Regions from separate parts of the Homo sapiens genome. Here region 2 is linked to region 1. Evidence: promoter capture Hi-C in human tissues and cell types (Jung and others, 2019). All regions are on one chromosome and are shown on one strand. Each heading gives the region's core, a stretch centred on a gene start or on the middle of the fragment in contact. The rest is flanking DNA. Distances are from core to core; before and after follow the strand shown.

Evidence for each region. The method cuts DNA at HindIII sites, captures the fragments that hold promoters and counts their contacts. A contact is called where the count stands out against the background at its distance.
Region 2: a contact is called between a fragment that was not itself captured here and the fragment with the promoter of TMIGD2 in region 1, in 1 of the 25 tissues and cell types used here (dorsolateral prefrontal cortex).

Annotation. Positions count from the first base shown.
Region 1 is chr19:4,300,194-4,304,137 of GRCh38, forward strand. TMIGD2 (transmembrane and immunoglobulin domain containing 2) reads right to left here and starts at 2,196. Exons shown (of 5, transcript NM_001169126.2): 1 at 2,147-2,196. The coding sequence starts at 2,192. RefSeq lists an enhancer at 1,657-2,202. The HindIII fragment of the contact is 29,023 bases long and covers 1-3,944 here.
Region 2 is chr19:4,447,292-4,451,328 of GRCh38, forward strand. UBXN6 (UBX domain protein 6) reads right to left here. Exons shown (of 11, transcript NM_025241.3): 5 at 1,027-1,124; 6 at 259-334. It also overlaps a transcript of CHAF1A not described here. Among named protein-coding and RNA genes, the nearest start is that of MIR4746, 3.3 kb to the left of the region's middle. The HindIII fragment of the contact is 5,827 bases long and covers 1-4,037 here.

The DNA.
Region 1 (3,944 bases), core at 946-3,445:
GAGGTTGCAGTGACCTGAGATCGTGCCACTGCACTCCAGCCTGGGTGACAGAGCGAGGCTCTGTCTCAAACAAAACAAAACAAGGCCGGGTGCAGTGGCTCACGCCTATAATCCCAGCACTTTGGGAGGCAGAGGCGGGCGGATCACGAGGTCAGGAGATCAAGACCATCCTGCCCAACATGGTGAAACCCCGTCTCTACTAAAAATACAAAAATTAGCTGGGTGTGGTGGCATGTACCCGTAGTCCCAGCTACTCGGGAGGCTGAGGCGGGAGAATCACTTGAACCCGGGAGGCGGAGGTTGCAGTGAGCTGAGATCGCGCCACTGCACTCCAGCCTGGCGACAGAGCGAGACTGTGTCTCAAAATAAAAAACAAAACAAAACATTCCTGGGCTCATGTGATCCTCCCACCTCAGCCTCCCAAATTACTGGTGTTACAAGTACATGCCACTGTGCTCAGCCTGACCAGGGATCTTAATGGAAAGGTATAACCAGTGTGAGAAGGAAGGTATTGGGGGGTAAGAGCATTCCAGGCAGTGCACAGCCCATGCAAAGGCCCTGGGGCAGGACTGTGCCTGGCGTGTTGGAGGAACAGCGAGGAGGCCCGTGTGGCTGGAGCAGAGTGAGGACAGGGAGAGAGGGAGGAAGGGTTGGGCAGGGCCTGTGAGCCTTGGGGTGGTGTGGGGAGGTGAAGGAAGTTAAGCAGTTTATGTTTTAATGTAAGTGTGATGGAAAATCAGAAAGCAGGGAAGAAATAGTCCAATTGAAGTTTTTGTTTTTGTTTTTGTTTTTGTTTTGAGATGGGGTCTCACTCTGTTGCCCAGGTGGGAGTGCAGTGGTGTGATCTCGGCTCATTGCAACCTCTGCCTCCCAGGTTCAAGTGATTCTTGTGGCTCAGCCTCTTGAGTAGCTGGGACTACAGGCACTCGCTACCACGCCCAGCTAATTTTTGTATTTTTGGTAGAGATGGGGTTTCACCAACATGGCCAGGCTGGTCTGGAACTCCTGACCTCAAGTGATCCACCTGCCTCAGTCTCCAATTTAAGTTTTAATAAAAAGACCTTGGTTGGGTGTGGTGGCTCATGCCTGTTATCCCAGCCCTTTGGGTGGCCAAGACTGGGTGATTGCTTGAGGCCAGGAGTTCAAGACCAGCCTGGGCAACATAGTGAGACCCATCTCTAAAAAACAAAAATGACTGGGCACGGTGGCTCACGCCTGTAATCCCAGCACTTTGGGAGGCCAAGGTGGGTGGATCATGAGGTCAGGAGTTCGAGACCCACCTGGCCGAGATGGCGAAACCCCGTCTCTACTAAAAATACAAAAAAAATTAGCCAGGCGCAGTGGCGCGCGCCTGCAGTCCCAGCTACTCGGGAGCCTGAGGCAGGAGAATCTCTTGAACCTGGGAGGCAGAGGTTGCAGTCAACCGAGATCGCGTCACTGCACTCTAGCCTGGGTGACAGAGCAAGACTCCTTCTCAAAACAAAACAAAACAAACAAACAAAAAAACACAAATGAACAACAAAAAAGTGCAAGCGGCTGGAATCAGAGGAGAGGGAAAGAGGAATGGAGGTTTTCGCCCCAGGAAATGTGTGAAGGGCAGCAGCCTTTGTCCTTAATTGGAAACACAGAGGGAGCTGCTGCCGGAGTAGAAAGTCTGCTTTTAGCTGTGAGAAGTCTGACGTGTCTGTTAGACCCCCGGAGAAGTTGAGGTTATGTGAAGTTCCTGGCATTTGAGATGCAATTGCAGAGGAGGGTAGAGACATGAGATCTGGAGAAGGGTATTAGGCAGCTGGAACAGCAGGTGCAAAGGCTCGAAGGCCAGATCCAGCCTTCCCATTGCGGAAACAGAGAAAGAAAAGTCCCCAGGCTAGAGCAAGAGGGAGGGAGCAAAGGCACTGCGGAGGGTGGAGATGAGAGAGGCCAGGCCAGGCTGGTATGTAGGGCAAGGTTTAGATTGTATCCTAGGGGCCCTCAGAGGATCCTTCCTTAATCCTCCAGCCCCCATCACGTTCTGAGTCTCGGAGGGAGATGGGCCTTATCTGACAGTAGAGAGACTGAAGTTTAGAGGGGCCCTGAGCTGGGGGGCAGGCAGCTGGGGATGACAGCAAGAGTGGGGTTCAGAGGGGAGGGAGGCCCAGATACTCACCCCAGATCTGCACCAGGAGGCCCAGCACCATGCCCGGGGACCCCATTCCTGGCCCATCACCCCCCTCTCCCCCTCCCAGTTGACAGACTTCCTGCCACAATCTCCGCCTCCCGCTGCAGAAGCAGATGCAACACCCAGGGCCAGACAACAGACGTCCGGTGTTCCAGCCTGCTGGGGGCTCCACTTCCTGCCACCTCGTGCCTCAGTTTCCCCAATGCATTTTCTATCTGAAAGGCAGTGTACGGACCAGGCAACATGGCTCATGTCTGTAATCCCAGCACTTTGGGAGGCCGAGGCAGGTGGATCACCTGAGGTCAGGAGTTCGAGACCAGCTTGGCCAACATGATGAAACCCCTACTAATTTCTACTAAAAATACAGAAATTAGCTGGACATGGTGATGGGCGCCTATAATCCCAGCTACTTGGGAGGCTGAGGCAGGAGAATGGCTTAAACCCGGGAGGCGGAGGTTGCAGTGAGCCAAGATCACGCCACTGCACTCCAGCCTGGGCGACAAGAGTGAAACTCCGTCTCAGAAAAAAAGAAAAGAAAGGCAGTGTATGCAAGTGAGTGGGAGGAATCCACCCCTGTGAGCTTTCTGGAAGGCTCTACATAAACACATCTAGGTACAGGAAGACACAGTGCGAGAGCAGGTGGCTCCGTGGGGGAGGGGCAGGCGACATAGGCCTGAGCAGTGAGTTAAATGACAGGGTCCCTGCCTCAATTATTTTGCTCCCAAAATGTCTTTCTTTTGCTGGGCGCTGTAGCTCACACCTGTAATCCCAGCACTTTGTGAGGCTGAGGTGGGAGGATCACTTGAGCCGAGTTTAAGATCAACCTGGGGTAACACAGCGAGATCCAATCTCTATTAAAAAAAAAAAAAAAAAAAAAAAGATACAGGCTGGGCATGGTGGCCCAGGCCTGTAATCCCAGCACTTTGGGAGGCCAAGGCGGGTGGATCACCTGAGGTCAGGAGTTCAAGACCAGCCTAGCCAACATGGCAAAACCCGGTCTCTACTAAAAATACAAAAATTAGCTGGGCCTAGTGGTGGGCGCCTGTAGTCCCAGCTACTCAGTGGGGTTGAGGCAGGAGAATCGCCAGAACTGGGGAGATGGAGATTACAGGGAGCCGAGATCCTGCCACTGCACTCCAGCCTGGGCGACAGAGTGAGACTGTGTCTCAAAAAAAAAAAAAAAGATACAAAACCAACCCAGGGTGATGGTGCATGCCTATAGTCCCAGCCACTCGGGAGGCTGAGGCAGGAGAACCGCTTGAGCCCAGGAGTTGGAGGCTGCAGTAAGCCATGATTGCGCCCCGTTACTCCAGCCTGGGCAACAGAGTGAGTCCGTCTCTAAAAAAAAATAATAATAATAATTTAAAAAATCTTCCTTTGAGGTTCAGAGAAATAGATTTCTGTTGATAACTTTGGGTCCTATTACATGACCTGCTTGGGGGTCCCGTGGAGGAGGTTCATGGGCTCTCGAGTTCCTCCCAGCCCTGCATCCCTCACCCCTGATTCTGTAGTGCATTCTGGGAGGAGGTGGCGAACCCACAGACCTCAATGTCTCAGACCCAACTGCAGAGTGACCTCCTTTCTCACTCGGACCTAGAAGGCCTGCATCGTACACAGCGTTCCCCTCCACCACAGGGAGGTTCTGCGGTGGCTATGCCTGCACCTCCCCTGCAGACACGTACACCCGCCCAGCCTCCCCTACCCACTCCTTCCCCTCCCCAGAACATTCTGAAGCTCCACCCTTCCCCCCACCGTCTGCTGAGGGACCCTGGATAGATTAGCCCCC
Region 2 (4,037 bases), core at 1,287-3,786, 150 kb after region 1:
ACAAGCCCAGCTGAAGAGGAGGAAAAGGATGCAGGTGAGGAGAGGCAGAATTTGTTGATTTGGGGTGACCGGTGCATAAAAGTCTTGCTCTCCATCTTGTCCTGCTACCTTCTACTGGCCGAACCCTTCACTGCTTGTGGCTCAACTCTCGCTAGCTCCTCCAGGGAGCCCACCGCCTGGTGTGGGCCACCACCGGCTCCTGCAGGCCAGCTGCCCCCACCCCCAGCCTGGGCCCCGGGGGCCAGAAGGCACGCCCACCTGAAACACCTTGTTCTGCAGCTTGATCTTCCGGTACTTCTCCTCCTCGGGGTGCAGGTGGATGTTGTCCAGGTACCTGGGGTAGGTGGAGAAGGTGAGTGGGGCACAGCCCAGGCTGCCCACCCGGCCCCTCTGTGCCTCCTGCTCCAGGTAACAGCAGCTCAGCCACACTTGGCCTCTAGTCAGAGGGAAGAAGCGGCCCAGTGACGCGAGGGCAGCAGACCATCTCCGGGTGGAAGGCACACCTCGGACACCCCATGGAGCCCACCCCTGGTGCCAGCAGGAGCCCCACGGAACCCCTCACCGTCCCACCAGCCCTGGAAGGGCACAATTAACCACAGCGGTGGGGAAGCCACAGTGCCGGAAGAGTGGAGAGCCAGAGCTGAAGGGCCGCAGTGCCAGCAGGGGGCTCCTGCGGGGTGCTCCCTCGGCGTTGGCGGGCAGCGTGGACCTCCAGGCCTGCCCCCGATCCTGAGACCCGGGGAGTGGGGTGGGACCCTGCCTCCTCCACATGTTCCCCAAGGAAGCCAGGGTGGGAAACCCCTGATTCCTTCAACACCTTCATTTTGCACACGGGTAAACTGAGGCCCAAGGAGGCCCAGCCCTTTGCCTGAGGCCTCTGGGTGGAGCTGCCTCACTCTCGGCCTATGCTCCTTCCCAACCCACCTCAGCAGGTAATGAGGGGGCCAGAGGGGGTGACAGCCCCAGTGGGAGGGGTGCTGGGATGAGCTGGAGGGGCCAGGCAGGGCAAAGGGGCCACACGCTCACTTGGCAATGGTGTCCACACCCAGCTTCACCCGGTCCTGGTCTTTGTTGAACGTGTAGATCTTCATGATGGAGGCGGCCACTGGGTCGGTGGAGAAGTGCTGGGAGGAGGGAAGCAGGGAAAGCCACTCACTGAGAGCCCGGGCCGCACGGCCCTCCGCTGCCCAGGTAACAGGGGCAGGAAAAGGAAGGCAGAACAGCGGCTTGGAGCGGCCCCAGCTGTGCGCTCATCACAGAAAGGAAAAGAGAGACCCTCCAAGACCGCAGCCCTGCCCACGCCCCAGGGCAGAGGCGACGCAGCCAAGACCCAGCAGAACTCAAGTCTCCCCTTCCGCCTTCTCAAGGCTAGATCCATGGGACTTGGAAGCCAGTGTGACGCGACAGAACTGTGCCTCACACTCTGGCTTTAGAACTCGACCTCAGTGCTGAGATCCATCAAGGCCACCGCCACTTACAGAACCTCCCGCCACCATGGACGCCCCATCCCTCCTGCTCTCGCAGCCCCATGATGGACGTTCTGGAACCACTCCCGGGCCTCATGTTTACAAAGAGACCGAGAGGCCCATCGTCCAGGGTCACAGGGATGGCAGGTGGCAGAGAGGACACAAATGAGTCTGCAACCCTCAATGTCTGAAACTCAATAGCTGGAAGACGGATACCCCCAGCCCCTGCCCCTCCCCGAGGTCCCACCTATCCACCTATGTTACCGGGGGAGGGGAGAAGTCATAGCTGGAACTCTGGGGGTTTCCCAGAACCAGCCCTGCTGACTGCGAACAGCGTCCCAGCATGGAGAGGCTGAGAACAGTACGTACCCTAAGACCTGGAAAAGATTGGGGCACAAATCCACGCTCGGCACAGCCATCACACACGGCCACACCCAGAGAGCCACCCATGGCCTGGGAAGCAGGGCTGCCACCCGCACCTCCCTGGGCTGCCCAGACGAGGGCGGGTGAACAGAAGGGCAGCCCAGGGCCATGTGTCAGGATTCGGGCCACCTGCCCAGGCAGCCCAGAGCTCCACCCACCACCCCCCACCCTCAACTGCACAGCAGGGTCCCTCAGCAGCCCCCTGCGTCACACGGACCAATGACCTACACACTGAGCCGGGGCTCATGCCAACTGAAAATTGGGACCCGGCCCAGTCTGCCGGTTTAGTTGCTGAGATGATGTGGGGAGCGGGACAGAGCACGTGGATGCAGAGAGGCAGAGCTGCCAGATGGGCATGTCCCCAAGACAACAGCTTCCTTGGGATCAGAGCGCCCGGGACAGCACACCAGCCAAGGGAAGCGTGTCAGCTCCAAAAGCGGGCCTCGGGCGTTTTGGGCGACTGGCTGCCAGGCTTAGGTCAGGAGCTGGGTACATGCACAGACAAGGGACGAAGGAACAGCAGCCAGGAAGGGGTCCAAATCCATACAGGAATGTACTTTGTGAGAAAGGTGGGATTTCACAGCTGTAAGCAAAAGACAGGTGCTCTCGACAGGTGGGGCTGAGAAGAAAGCTGAGCCAAGATCTAAAAAAAAAATTACATCAGCTCCATCCCACCATGTTACATAATAACATGCTCCAGCTGGATCAAAGCTTCAACCATGGAAACAAGCAAGCAGTCAAGGAGAAGCCAGAAGAAAAGCTCTGGAGGCCGGGCACGGTGGCTCATGCCTGGAATCCCAGCACTTTGGGAGGCCGAGGCGGTCGGATCACGAGATTAGGAGAGCGAGACCATCCCGGCCAACATGGTGAAACCTCATCTCTAAAATACAAAAGTTAGCCCGGGTGTGGTGGCGTGCACCTGTAGTCCCAGCTACTTGGGAGGCTGAGGCAGGTGAATTGCTTGAACCCGGGAAGCAGAGGTTGCAGTGAGCTGAGATTGCACCACTGCACTCCAGCCTGGTGACAGCAAGACTCTGTCTCAAAAAAAAAAAAAAAAAAAGCACTGGAGAGGCCACAAAAGAATTCTCTCAGCATGGAAATGGGGAAGGCATTTCTAAGAATGACCCCAAACCCAAAAGCCATGAACTAAAACTGACACATTTAATTATACAGAGATCAAAAAATCCTACACAGCAAAGTGACCATAAGCAGAGCCAACATAGAAGCAACTAGAGGGAAACATGTGCAACTCATATCATAGGCAAAAGCCTAAATTGCCTAATATGTAAAGAGTGCTGCCGGGCACGGTGGCTCCCGCCTGTAATCCCAGCACTTTGGGAGGCCGAGGCGGGCGGATCACGAGGTCAGGAGATCGAGACCATCCTGGCTAACATGGTGAAACCCCGTCTCTACTAAAAATACAAAGAATCAGCTGGGCGTGGTGGCGGTTCGCCTGTGGTCCCAGCTACTCGGGAGGCTGAGGCAGGAGAATGGTGTGAACCTCGTAGGCGGAGCTTGCAGTGAGCAGAGATGGCGCCACTGCACTCCAGCCTGGGCGACAGAGCGAGACTCTGTCTCAAAAAAAAAAAAAAAAAAAAAAAAAAAAGAGTGCCTACAAATCACTAATAAAAAGACAAACTATCTACTAAATAATGTAGAAAGGACGCATTCTCATATGAAACATGGCCAATCCAAAATAAGGAAAGTGCAAATTAACTCTATCCTGAGATGTTATTTTCACCTACCAACAGGCGTAAAGATCAAAGTTTGGTGATTTACAGTATGGTGAGAGGATGGGGACACGGGTGCTTTTGCACACACTGCTGGAGTGGGTGTGAGTCTGGAGAGTCTATGGAACTATTACTATTTTGTTTTGTTTTGTTTTTAAGATGAAGTTTCGCTCTTGTCACCCAGTGTCCACGCTGGAGCTCAATGGCGTGATCTGGGCTCACTGCAACCTCCACCTCCCAGGTTCAAGCGATTCTCCTGCCTCAGTCTCCTGAGTAGCTGGGATTACAGGCGCCTGTCACCACGCCTGGCTAATTTTTGTATATTTAGTAGATAGGGGGTTTCACTATGTTGACCAGGCTGGTCTTGGAACTTCTGACCTCAGGTGATCCACCTGCCTCAGCCTCCCAAAGCACTGGA